Linked DNA regions of Homo sapiens: all the other regions are linked to region 2. Evidence: promoter capture Hi-C in human tissues and cell types (Jung and others, 2019). All regions are on one chromosome and are shown on one strand. Each heading gives the region's core, a stretch centred on a gene start or on the middle of the fragment in contact. The rest is flanking DNA. Distances are from core to core; before and after follow the strand shown.

Region 1 (2,700 bases), core at 49-2,548, 210 kb after region 2:
CTCCTGCCTCAGCCTCCCGAGTAGCTGGGATTATAGGCGCAGGCTACCACGCCCAGCTAATTTTTCGTATTTTTAGTAGAGATGGGGTTTCACCATGTTAGCCAGGCTGGTCTCGAACTCCTGACCTCAAGTGATCTGCCCACCTCGGCCTCCCGAAGTGTTGGGATTACAGGCGTGAGCCACTGCACCCGGCCAATTTCTGTATTTTTAGTAGAGATGGCGTTCCACCATGTTGCCCAGCCTGGTTTCAAATTCCTGACCTCAGGTGATCCGCCTGCCTTGGCCTCCCAAAATGTTGGGATTACAGGTGTGAGCCACTGTGCCTGGCCTGGAATTTCTTTGATGAGAGCTATGCCTTGACAGTCTCATTTTTCCATTGTACTAGAAGGTCTGGGGCCCTGGGAGCTAGTGCGGCATGAAGGCCTGAGTGGGCTCTGTGCCTTGCTGACAGTGTTCCCAAGCTGAGTGGAGGAAGACTAAGGGTCTGGATATCCTCAACACTGAGTACATGAATTTCTGTGTAACCCTTCTGTTGTTGCTGTCTTCTCCTCTCCTGTGCCTGGTGTTCATCTGTCCAGGACCTTCTGTATTCTTTGGATAATAAATTTCTGATCTCTTGTCGGGTCTAGGTTGCAGCCTTCATAGGATCTAGGAGTCCACTGCTTTTTTTTCTTTTTTCTTTTTCTGAGACAGAGTCTCGCTGTGGTGCAATCTCTGCTCACTGCAACATCCGCCTCTCAGGTTCCCGTGATTCTCATGTCTCAGCCTCCCAAGTAGCTGAGATTACAGGCGCCCGCCACCACACCTAGCTAATTTTTGCATTTTTAGTAGAGACATGGTTTCGCTGTGTTGCCCAAGCTGGTCTTGAACTCCTGAGCTCAAGTGATCCACCTGCCTCGGCCTCCCAAAGTGTTGGGATTAAAGAATAGAGATAAGGGAGGCACAGAGGGGCTAAGTAACACCTGAGGTTATAAAACTGGTCATTGGAGGAGGTAGGATTTTATTCCTGAAAGGTTAATGGTAATATTATCGTCTCCATTTCTGACTCTAGTAATTTCAAGTCTTTTTTCTTTTTTTCTTGGTCAGTCTAGCTGAGGGTTTGTCAGTTGCTTTGACTTTTTTCAAAGAACCAACTTTTGGTTTTATCAATTTTCTCTATTGTTTTTCTGTTCTCTATTTCATTCATTTCTGCCCCAGCATTTATTGTTTCTTTCCTTTTGCTTACTCCTGCTTTTGCTCTTCTTTTCTAATTTTTCTGGTATCTTAAAGTGGAAGGTTAGATTATTGATTTACAATCTATATTTATTTATTTACTTTTTTCTTTTCTTTTGAGACAGAGTCTAGCTCTGTCCCCCAGGCTGGAGTGCAGTGGCGCAATCTAGGCTCACTGCAAGTTCCGCCGCCATGGTTCACGCCATTCTCCTGCCTCAGCCTCCCGAGTAGCTGGGACTACAGGCACCCGCCACCACACCTGGCTAATTTTTTGTATTTTTAGTAGAGACGGGGTTTCACCGTGTTAGCCAGGATGGTCTCAATCTCCTGACCTCGTGATCCGCCTGCCTCAGCCTCCCAAAGTGCTGGGATTACAGGCGTGAGCCACCGTGCCCGGCCTACAATCTTCATTTTTTTTTTAAATAGGCACATATGGGCCAGGTGTGGTGGCTCATGCCTGTAATCCCAGCATTTTGGGAGGCCGAGGTTGGGCGGATCACCTGAGGTCAGGAGTTCAAGACCAGCCTGGCCAACATAGTGAAACCTCGCCTCTAAAAATAGAAAATTAGCTGGGCATGGTAGCACATGCCTGTAATCCCAGCTACTCAGGAGGCTGAGGCAGGAGAATCGCTGAAACCTGAGAGGCAGAGGTTGCAGTGAGCCCAGCCTGCGCCATTGCACTCCAGCCTGGGTGACAGAGCAAGACTTTGTCTCAAAAAAAAATTAATAAATAAAAAATAATAAAAAAAATAGGCACATATGGCCAGGCATGGTGGCTCATACCAGCACTTTGGGAGGCTGAGACGCGGGTCGCTTGAGCTCAGGGGTTTGAGACCAGCCTGGGCAATGTAACAAGACCCCATCCCTACGAAAAATAAAAAATTAAGCCAGGTGTTGGTGGCTTTTGCCTGTAGTTTCAGCCATTCCAAAGGCTGAGGTGGGAGGATTGTTTGAGCCCAGGGGTGTGAGGCTGCAGTGAACCCTGATTGCATGACTGCACTCCAGTGTGGGCAATAAAGCGAGACACTGTCTCAAAGGAATAAAAAGGCATTGATAGCTATGAATTTTCCTTCAAGCACTGCTTTAGCTGCATTTCATAAGTTTTAAGCCTTTTTATTCATTTCATAATATTTTCTAATTCCCCTTTGGATTTCTTCTTCGAATCATTCATTATTTAGAGTATGTTGTTTAATTTCCACATATTTCACATATTTGTGAGTTTCCCATGTTTCCCAAATTTCTAATTTCATTATAGTGTCCTCAGAGAACACACTTTGTATTATTTGAGTCCTTTTAAATTAATTGAGGTTTGTTTTATGACCTAGCATATGGTCTTTCCTGGAGAATGTACCATGTCCACTTAAGAATAATGTGGCCCTGGCATGGTGGCTTATGCCTGTAATCCCGGCACTTTGGGTGGCTCAGGTGGGAGGATCCCTTTAGCCCAGGAGTTGGAGACCAACCTGGACAACGTAGTGAGACCCCATC
Region 2 (2,700 bases), core at 76-2,575:
AAAGGACTGTGCACATCCAAGGGGACATTTTGGTGGCGTCGTGCTGGGTGCTGAGGAAGCAGCCCGCTCTCTGGAGCCTCCTAGACCAGCATGGGATAGTGGAGCAGGAACAGATTGGGCTCCTGGGAGCACAGAAAGGACAGTTGGTTTTCAGCCTAAGGCCAGAGAGAATGCTTGGAGAGAAATCAATCATTCCTTAGCTGAGGCTTAAAATTCGAGGATGTGGCCGGGCGCAGTGGCTCATGCCTGTAATCCCAGCTCTTTGGGAGGCCGAAGTGGGTGGATCACTTGAGGTCAGGAGTTCGCGACCAGCCTGGCCAACATTTTTAGTGGCCGTCTCTACTAAAAATACAAAAATTAGCCAGGCGTGGTGGTGGGCGCCTGTAATCCCAGCTACTCGGGAGGCTGAGGCAGGAGAATCGCTTGAACCCGAACCCGGGAGGCGGAGGTTGCCGGGAGCCGAGATCGCGCCACTGCACTCTAGCCTGGGCGACAGAGCGAGACTCCGTCTCAAAATACAAAAAAATTGGAGGATGTAGCTAGGAAAAGCAGGGAAAGCCTTCCCAGGCAGAGGGAACAGCGCCTGGGAATATAGCGCCTCAAAGGGCATCTGATGCCCTGTCCCCGTCCTACCCCTAAGGACCAGCCCGACCTGCCGCACCCCCCGACCCCGACTAAGGACACTGCGACCACTTGGGGGCGCTGCGACCTCCTCCCGGGTGAAATGAAACCCGAGGGCAGGCCCCCACCCACCAAGCAAGTAAAGCAAGCCGTTTGAGGGAGTGGCCTGGAAATGAGAGAGAAAAAGTCCTAGAGCAGGAGTGGGATAGACTGTGAGGCAAACTGAGCTCAGAGCTCCAGTCCACCCTGGGGAGAGTCACGGTCCACATTTTGGGAGTTAAGGAGATAAAGGGAGTGGGAACCAGAGCCTAGCGACGGGGACAGGGCATCAGATGCCCTTTGAGGCGCTGTATTCCTCCGGCAAGAATCTCTCCGGGCCTCTGTTTCCCCCATCTTAGATGGGCTCTGGGGCCGTCGGGCGCAAAAGGACACGATAGTGTGGCGGGTCCCGGAAAGGGACTCCCGGGCGGGGTGTTGCGGGGAGGTGGTGACGTGGCCAGACAGGACCTAAAGGACTTGGACTAGAGGAGCGGAGCTGGCAGGAGCGTTGGACGGCGGTGTACGCATGCGCGTCGGGCGGCGGTGTACGCATGTGCATCGCCGGAGGCAGGCGTTCTGCGCGCGCGTGCCCGAGAAACTGACGGCCGCGCATGCGCCCTTGGTTGGCGGGAGTTTCGGAGGCGGTGACCGTGACGTAGAAGGTGGAGACCGCTTCACCCTGATCAGGGAGTATCGGCTGCGGGTGCGCAAGGCGTCCAGGAGTGACCTGGGGCTGTGGAGAGCGACCCGTGGCCTTGTGTTTCAGGTACGGAGGTTCCGGACTGGACGGGCGTCAGGAAGTCACAGACTTGTCCTCTGATGTGGCCCCGCCCGCCGCCGCACTAATCTCTTCGGCGTCGTACCCGTCGGCCCAGCTCGACCCGCCGCAGCCCCGGCCCCGACCGTGGACACTGGGGGTCCCCGAGGGCGCTGCGACCTCCTCCCGGGTGAAATGAAACCCGAGGGCAGTCCCCCTTACCGACCCCATTAGAGACGTATCTGCCGTGCCAGGGGTCTAGGCTCCAGAAACAGGGGTGAGGACTGGGTAGAGGGCTGGGGTTCGAATTGCCCCTGTGCCCCCAGGCTGGCTGTGTCACAAGCTTGGGCCAGGCTTTTTGCCCCTCTGAACCTCAGTTCCCCTGTCTGCAAAGTGGAGTTAATGGTGCTTACGGAGTTGTGGAAGGGATTAAGTGGAATAACGATGCAAGTAAAGCGCTTACATAGCACAGGTCCTAGCACAGAATAAGCGTTTAACAGTTGACAGTTGTTGCTTTTCTAAGCCTGGATCTGTGTGATACAGTCGTTATTATCCAAGCCTGGATTTGTGTGATATTGTCATAAGGACCGTGGGGGATTCAGATCCTTGACCGAGCCCTCCTTGTTATCTTTTCCTTTTTGTCCCTCTGCATATATTCATATCTTTTTACTTAGCACCCCCCACAGACAGATTTCTGCTGGGAGGGAGGGGACGATGAAGAGATGCCTAGGTGACATCCCTGCCTTCCAGGCAGTTGTTCCTGACAGTCACTAGGAATACAAATACAGCCTGGCTGGGGAGACAGACATGTAAACAGATTTTATAGCCAATGCTACGAAGGCCAAGGGGCATAACCACCAACTCTGCCAAAGATAAGTGATGTGAAAGCTTCATATTTGAGCCAGGTTGGGAAGGATGAATAAGTTTAACAGGTAGAAGGACAGATATGTGCAAAGATTCAGAAGTAGTACAGGGAATAGGACTGGGAGGAGAGAGCAGGAATGGGTAAATTGGGACTAGTTTACCTGAGGTGTTGACTACACTTTGGAAAAGTCCCGGCAACTGTCTGAAGAATAGACTGGGCCGGGTGTGGTGGCTCAGGCCTGTAATCCCAGCACTTTGGGAGGCTGAGGCCGGGCGGATCACCTGAGGTCAAGAGTTCGAGACCAGCCTGGCCAATATGGGGAAACCCCATCGCTACTAAAAATACAAAAATTAGCCAGGTGTGGTGGCAGGCACCTGTAATCCCAGCTACTCAGGAAGCTGAGGCAGGAGAATTGCTT
Region 3 (2,700 bases), core at 31-2,530, 150 kb after region 2:
AGGTCACACAGAGCCTTTCCAGGGAGAGGACTTGGGATTGATTTTAAGTGTGACAGGGAGGATTCTGAGTAGGGGCATGAGACGACCTGACCCCTCCTTCCTGCTGAGAAGAGAGGATGCCGCGCAGGAAGCCGTAGTAGGCTCTCTCCAGGTGAGAAGTGGTTGGATCTTAGCTGTGTTCTGACCACACCCAACAGGGCTTTCTGTTGGGCTGGATGTGAGGCTGAGACAGGAAGCAATCAGGAATGGATGACTCCTGACCTCTTTATCCCTGAGACCACCAACCAGATCCCAAGTGTAGCTACCCTTTCTGATTCTAATAACTGTCGTGACAGTGGCTGGGGTGGGTGGTTCAAGAACCATGCAAAAGTTATAAGGTCTTGGTCACTAGTTCAGCTGGGTTGGTTGGCCTTCTGGGCCTATTTTCAAATATTTAGCGCATTCCCAGCCACAGAATTTTTTAGGGTTACAGCACAGCTCAAGAAGAGACTCTTCTCAAAGGTACAGAATACAGGCCAGGCGTGGTGGTGCACACCTATAGCCCCAGCTACTTGGGAGGCTGAGGCAACAGGATCACTCAAGCCCAGGAGTTTGAGGCCTGCCTGAGCAACACAGTGAAACTGTCTCTAAAAAAGAAAAAGAAAAAAAAAATAAAGGTACAAAGGTCAAAGGGCTCCCAGTCAGGCAAAGAAAACAAAGAAAACGAAGCAGAGACCCTACTGGGGTCAATACACTTCTCAAAGCATATTGACTCTGGGTCACCTTACTAAATTTACTTTTAGTTCTAGTAGCTTTTTGGCAGATTCCTTATGATTATCTACATATGATTGTATTACCTGTAAGTAAAGGCAGCTGTATTATTTTCCAATCCATATACTTTAAATTTATTTTTCTTGTGTTATTGCACTTGTTAGGACCTTTAGTACAACACTGAGTAGAAGCGGTAAGAACATTATTGCTTTGTTCCCAATCTTAGATGGAAAATAATCAATCTTTCCTATTAAGCATGCTGTCGATTTTTTTTTTTTTTTTTTTTTTTTGAGATGTAATGTCACTCTGTCACCCAGGCTGGAGTGCAGTGGCCTGATCTCGGCTCACTGCAACGTCTGCCTCCTGGTTCAAACAATACCTTGCCTCAGCCTCTGGAGTACCTGAGATTACAGGCACACGCCATCATGCCCAGCTAATTTTTCTATTTTTGTAGAGATGGGGGTTTCACCATGTTGGCCAGGCTGGTCTTGAACTCCTGGCCTCAGGTGATCAGCAAGCCTCGGCCTCCCAAAGTGTTGGGATTACAGGCATGAGCCACCGCACCTAGCCTTAGCTGTAGATTTTTCACAGATGCTTTGTATCAGGTACTCTTCTGTGGTAGGCAGAATCATCATCCCCCCCAACAATGTTCAGGTCCTGATCTGCAGCACCTGTGAATATGTTACCTTACATTGCAAAAAGAGTTTGCAGATGTGATTAAGGATTTTGAGGTGGGAAGATTATTTTGGATTGTCCAGATGGACCCAATATAATCACCAGGATGCTTACGAGAGGGAGGTAGGAGGGTGAGAGTTAGAGACAGGAAGATGCTACTGGCTGTGAAGACTGAGGAAGGGGCCATGAGCAGAGGGATCCATATGGCTTCTAGAAACTGGAAAAGGGAATGGATTTCTTCTCTAGAGTCTGCAAAAGGAACATTGCCTTGCTGACACCTTGATTTTTGTCCAGTGAAACTCATTTCAGACTTCTAACCTCCAGAACTGTAAAATAATAATTTGTGTTATTTTAAGCTGCTGAATTGATGGTAATTTGTTACACCAGCAATAGGAAACTAACATATTCTATTCATCGTTTTCTGCTTTTTTTTTTTTTAATCATGAAGGGTGTTGAATTTTGTCAAATGATTTTTCTGCATTTTTTCAGGTGATCGTGGTTTTTCAGTTTTTTGTTTTTTTTTTTTGAGATGGAGTCTCGCTCTGTTGCCCAGGCTGAGTCACCACAACCTCTGCTTCCCGGGTTCAAGAGATACTCCTGCCTCAGCCTCCTGAGTAGCTGGGACAACAGGCGCATGCCACCATGCCCAGCTAATTTTTTTTTTTTTTTTTGAGATCAAGTCTTGCTCTGTCACCCAGGCTAGAGTGCAGTGGCATGATCTTGGCTCACTGCAACTTCCACCATGGGTTGGCCAGGCTGGTCTTGAACTCCTGGCCTCAGGTGATCCACCTGCCTCGGCTTCCCAAAGCGCTGGGATTACAGGTGTGAGCCACCGCACCCAGCCAATGTTCAGCTATTGATTGATTGAGACAGAGTCTTCCTCTGTTGGCTAGGCTGGAGTGTAGTGGCACAGTCATGGCTCACTGCAGCCTCAACGTCACAGGCTCAAACGATTCTCCTGCCTCAGCCTCTGGAGTAGCTGGGACCACAGGCATGTACCACCATGCCTGGTTAATTTTTAAATTTTTTGTAGAGAAAGACTCTCACCATGTTATCCAGGCTTGTCTCAAATTCCTGGCTGGGCTTAAGTGATTCTCCCACCTCCACCTCCCAAAGTTCTTGGATTACAGGCATTAGCCATTGTCCCTGGCCAATGTTTAGTTCTTATTTTTAAAATAAATTTTAATTTTACATTTATCCTCATTGTTAAGCAAGTGATGTTCAGTTTTTGTTTTTTGTTTTGTTTTGTTTTGTTTGAGATGGAGTCTTGCTCTG
Region 4 (2,700 bases), core at 11-2,510, 230 kb after region 2:
AGGCAGGGGTGCCCCCATGGTGCAGCTAGGAAAAGAGGCCCCAGAAGGGGAGTGGAGTGCCCATGAGAGGGGGAGGGGCCACCTGGAAGACAGGATTCCTGGGCTAGGTTTGGGTCAGTGGAGAGCAAACTTGGCTGCTGGTGCCCTCGAGGCTTGAACAAAACAGGGAGCCCCAGTCCTCAGGCGGGCCTGTGGCAGTGGAGTGGGAAAGGGCTCTGTGTATCCAGAGGCGCCTTCTAGAACTGGTGGAGGGGCGAGGGGCAGGCATGGGTGGGGCCTTTAGTTCTGAGGCCATCGCTTCCCCCTTCAGGTGCCCTAGACACCAGGGGTCAGCACTGATACTTGGCCTGGATGTGACTGGATGCCATGTCCCCCATCCTGGTGTCCAGATTCCCACCATAACAGAAAAGGCTGGGCTGAAGCCAGCACAGGGCAGTGCCCCCATGACCTCCAGCCCCTGGAGCTGGGCAGGCCAGATGCCTCCTTCTCAGTGCACCTCATCTGAGTCTCCTCCTTAGAGCAGCTGGAGGGCTGGGAAGAGCAGGGATCAGGTTCTCCCAGCCACTAGTCCTCGTCCTGCCCCCTAGGGGTGAGTCCATCAGGGCCCTCCGCAGACCTTCCCCACCCACAGGCGAGATGACCCAGAGAGGGGAAGGCCCGGGTCCCTGCATACAGCACTGGCTGTGTCGGAAGGGCCCCCTGGTCTCGGTCCCTTTCCCCTGGCCCAGGGTGTAGGGATGGGAGATGGGGAGGGGACACAGATGCTGTGGGGGCGTGGAGTCCCACAGGGCTGTTTCTCCATCTGTGACACACATGCCTTTACTGGGCCAGGGGGAACTGACGACTGCAACCCTCTCCCCAGCACCCTTGTACCCGGGCTCCCCAGCCCCCCCCGGAGCTCTGGGCTTGGCATCTCCAGCTCCTCAGCAAAGGGGCAGGGCCTGGACGATGGCCTTCCCTTGCCGCAGGACCACTGCTTCTCAGAGGCCAGAACAGCCTTCCTGCTGCCCGGCCCCTGGCCAGAGTCCCTGTCGGCCCCCAGCAAACTCGCTGCCCCAGCTCACCCCTCAGTCCGTGCCCAACAGACCCTACCACGTCCCAGTCCGTGGGGCCCGCCTTTGCCCCCCGTGACAGCCGGGTCGGGCCCGGGCCACCTCTCATCTCCAGCCCTGGGCCGTTAGGCCTGTCCTCAAGACCCCCGGGGCCCCGGATCCCACCTGGTGCGGAGAAGGCGCTTGGGCTCGCTGGGTGCGTGGAACTGGGCCGGCCGTCGGGTCTGGACTCCAGGCGGGGGCGGGGCGTGGCGGCCGGGCCTTACAAGGCAGAAGAATGTGCGCGGGGCGGGGCCGCGGGCGGGGTGCGGGGGCCCTCGGCTGCCGTCCGGCCTTATTTGGCCTCGACCCACGGGCTGGCAGGCGGGGGCGCTCTGGGGTGAGCCCCCCTTCCTTGCTGTGCCAGCCCGGGCTGCACAGAGGGCCTTGTAGGGAGGGGAGGTGATGGGGTGAGCAGGCAATGGGAGAGGGGGTGTGGGGGTTCGCTCTGGGCCACCCCTTCCCCTCCAGAGAGGCAAACGGAATGTCCAGGGCCGCTTCCCCAGAGGCCTCCCACTTGTATGGGCCGTGGGAGTGCAGCTTCCCCTGACGGGCAACGGCTCTCGACGTGGGGAGGGCAGAGGCGGTGGGTGGGGGGGCTCCCAGGGACCCCTACGCCCGGTGACTCGCTCTGTCCACATCAGCGGTCGCCCGCCAGAGCGGGGTTGAAGGAACCACTCGGGAAGCACTGGTTTCGTGGAGGGAAACACGATGAACAAGTAGCTCCGCGGCCTGGGGCCTCAAAGGAGAAGGGGACCTGGGGGGAGCGTGGGCTGTTCCGCAGGGTGCTCTGGGCAGTGACATTGGGCAGACAGGAGGTGCAGGGGTGCGCCCCGCCGTGAGGGCTCCCGGGCTTGGGGTCGCCGGCAGCAGGAGGTCAGGAGGATGGGGGCGGGAGCCGGAGGGGCTGAGAAGCAGCAGGGACCCCTCTGTGGCTCCCTGTAGGCCATGTGGGGTGTCGGAGGGTTCCGAGCAGGGGGTGACGACCTGGCTTGGGTTTTGACGGAATCCTTCTGGGTGATGTGTTGAAAATAGCGCAGAGGGGGCCGAGTCCACGAGCAGGGGACCTGTGAGGAGCGACCCAGCAAGGATCAGGCTGATCCGGACTAGCGGGGAGGCCGAGGGACAAGTGCTAAAACTATTTCCGAGGTGCAGCCGGTAGGATCTGCTGGGGCATGGGAATGGGTGTGAAAGAAAAGAGTTAGGGTGGACTCTCAGAGTTTTGATGTGAGCAACGAGAAAGAGCTGCCATTTTCTATGATGGGTTTGCTGTGTGGAGCAGTTTGGGGATAAGAAACTCTATTTTGGACAGATTAATTTTTAAAAACTTTATTTTGAAATGATTTCAGACTTAGGATAAAGTTAGAAGAACTGTGCAAAGAACCCTGTATAGCTTCATCTAGATTCTCCATTTGTTACCATTGGGTTTTATTATATTTTCTTCTTGCTTTCCATATACATATACATATATATAATACATGTACATACATTTATATTTATTTATTCCTACCCCCAACCATTTGAGAGTTTCTTGCATACGTATGTCCTGTTATCTCTACATGTTTCAGTGAGTACCTCCTAAAAAGGAGATTCTCTTAAATATGCATAG

Evidence for each region. The method cuts DNA at HindIII sites, captures the fragments that hold promoters and counts their contacts. A contact is called where the count stands out against the background at its distance.
Region 1: a fragment that was not itself captured here is called in contact with the fragment with the promoter of DSN1 in region 2 in 1 of the 25 tissues and cell types used here (spleen).
Region 3: a contact is called between a fragment that was not itself captured here and the fragment with the promoter of DSN1 in region 2, in 1 of the 25 tissues and cell types used here (mesenchymal stem cells).
Region 4: the fragment with the promoter of MYL9 here is called in contact with the fragment with the promoter of DSN1 in region 2 in 5 of the 25 tissues and cell types used here (adrenal gland, aorta, lymphoblastoid cells and 2 more).

What each region holds. Positions count from the first base shown.
Region 1 is chr20:36,565,279-36,567,978 of GRCh38, reverse strand. The region is part of intron 2 of DLGAP4-AS1 (DLGAP4 antisense RNA 1); the gene reads left to right. Among named protein-coding and RNA genes, the nearest start is that of DLGAP4-AS1, 6.6 kb to the left of the region's middle. The HindIII fragment of the contact is 8,105 bases long and covers 1-2,700 here.
Region 2 is chr20:36,772,388-36,775,087 of GRCh38, reverse strand. It overlaps DSN1 (DSN1 component of MIS12 kinetochore complex), which reads left to right and starts at 1,325. Exons shown (of 11, transcript NM_001145315.2): 1 at 1,325-1,426. RefSeq lists enhancers at 474-1,020, 980-1,059, 1,070-1,209, 1,340-1,399, 1,021-1,566. The HindIII fragment of the contact is 22,977 bases long and covers 1-2,033 here.
Region 3 is chr20:36,621,607-36,624,306 of GRCh38, reverse strand. All of the region lies in intron 5 of SLA2 (Src like adaptor 2), which reads left to right. Among named protein-coding and RNA genes, the nearest start is that of RAB5IF, 17 kb to the right of the region's middle. The HindIII fragment of the contact is 9,070 bases long and covers 1-2,700 here.
Region 4 is chr20:36,540,079-36,542,778 of GRCh38, reverse strand. MYL9 (myosin light chain 9) reads right to left here and starts at 1,260. Exons shown (of 4, transcript NM_006097.5): 1 at 1,218-1,260. All of the region lies in intron 2 of DLGAP4-AS1 (DLGAP4 antisense RNA 1), which reads left to right. RefSeq lists an enhancer at 1-459 and a silencer at 1,240-1,439. The HindIII fragment of the contact is 24,137 bases long and covers 1-2,700 here.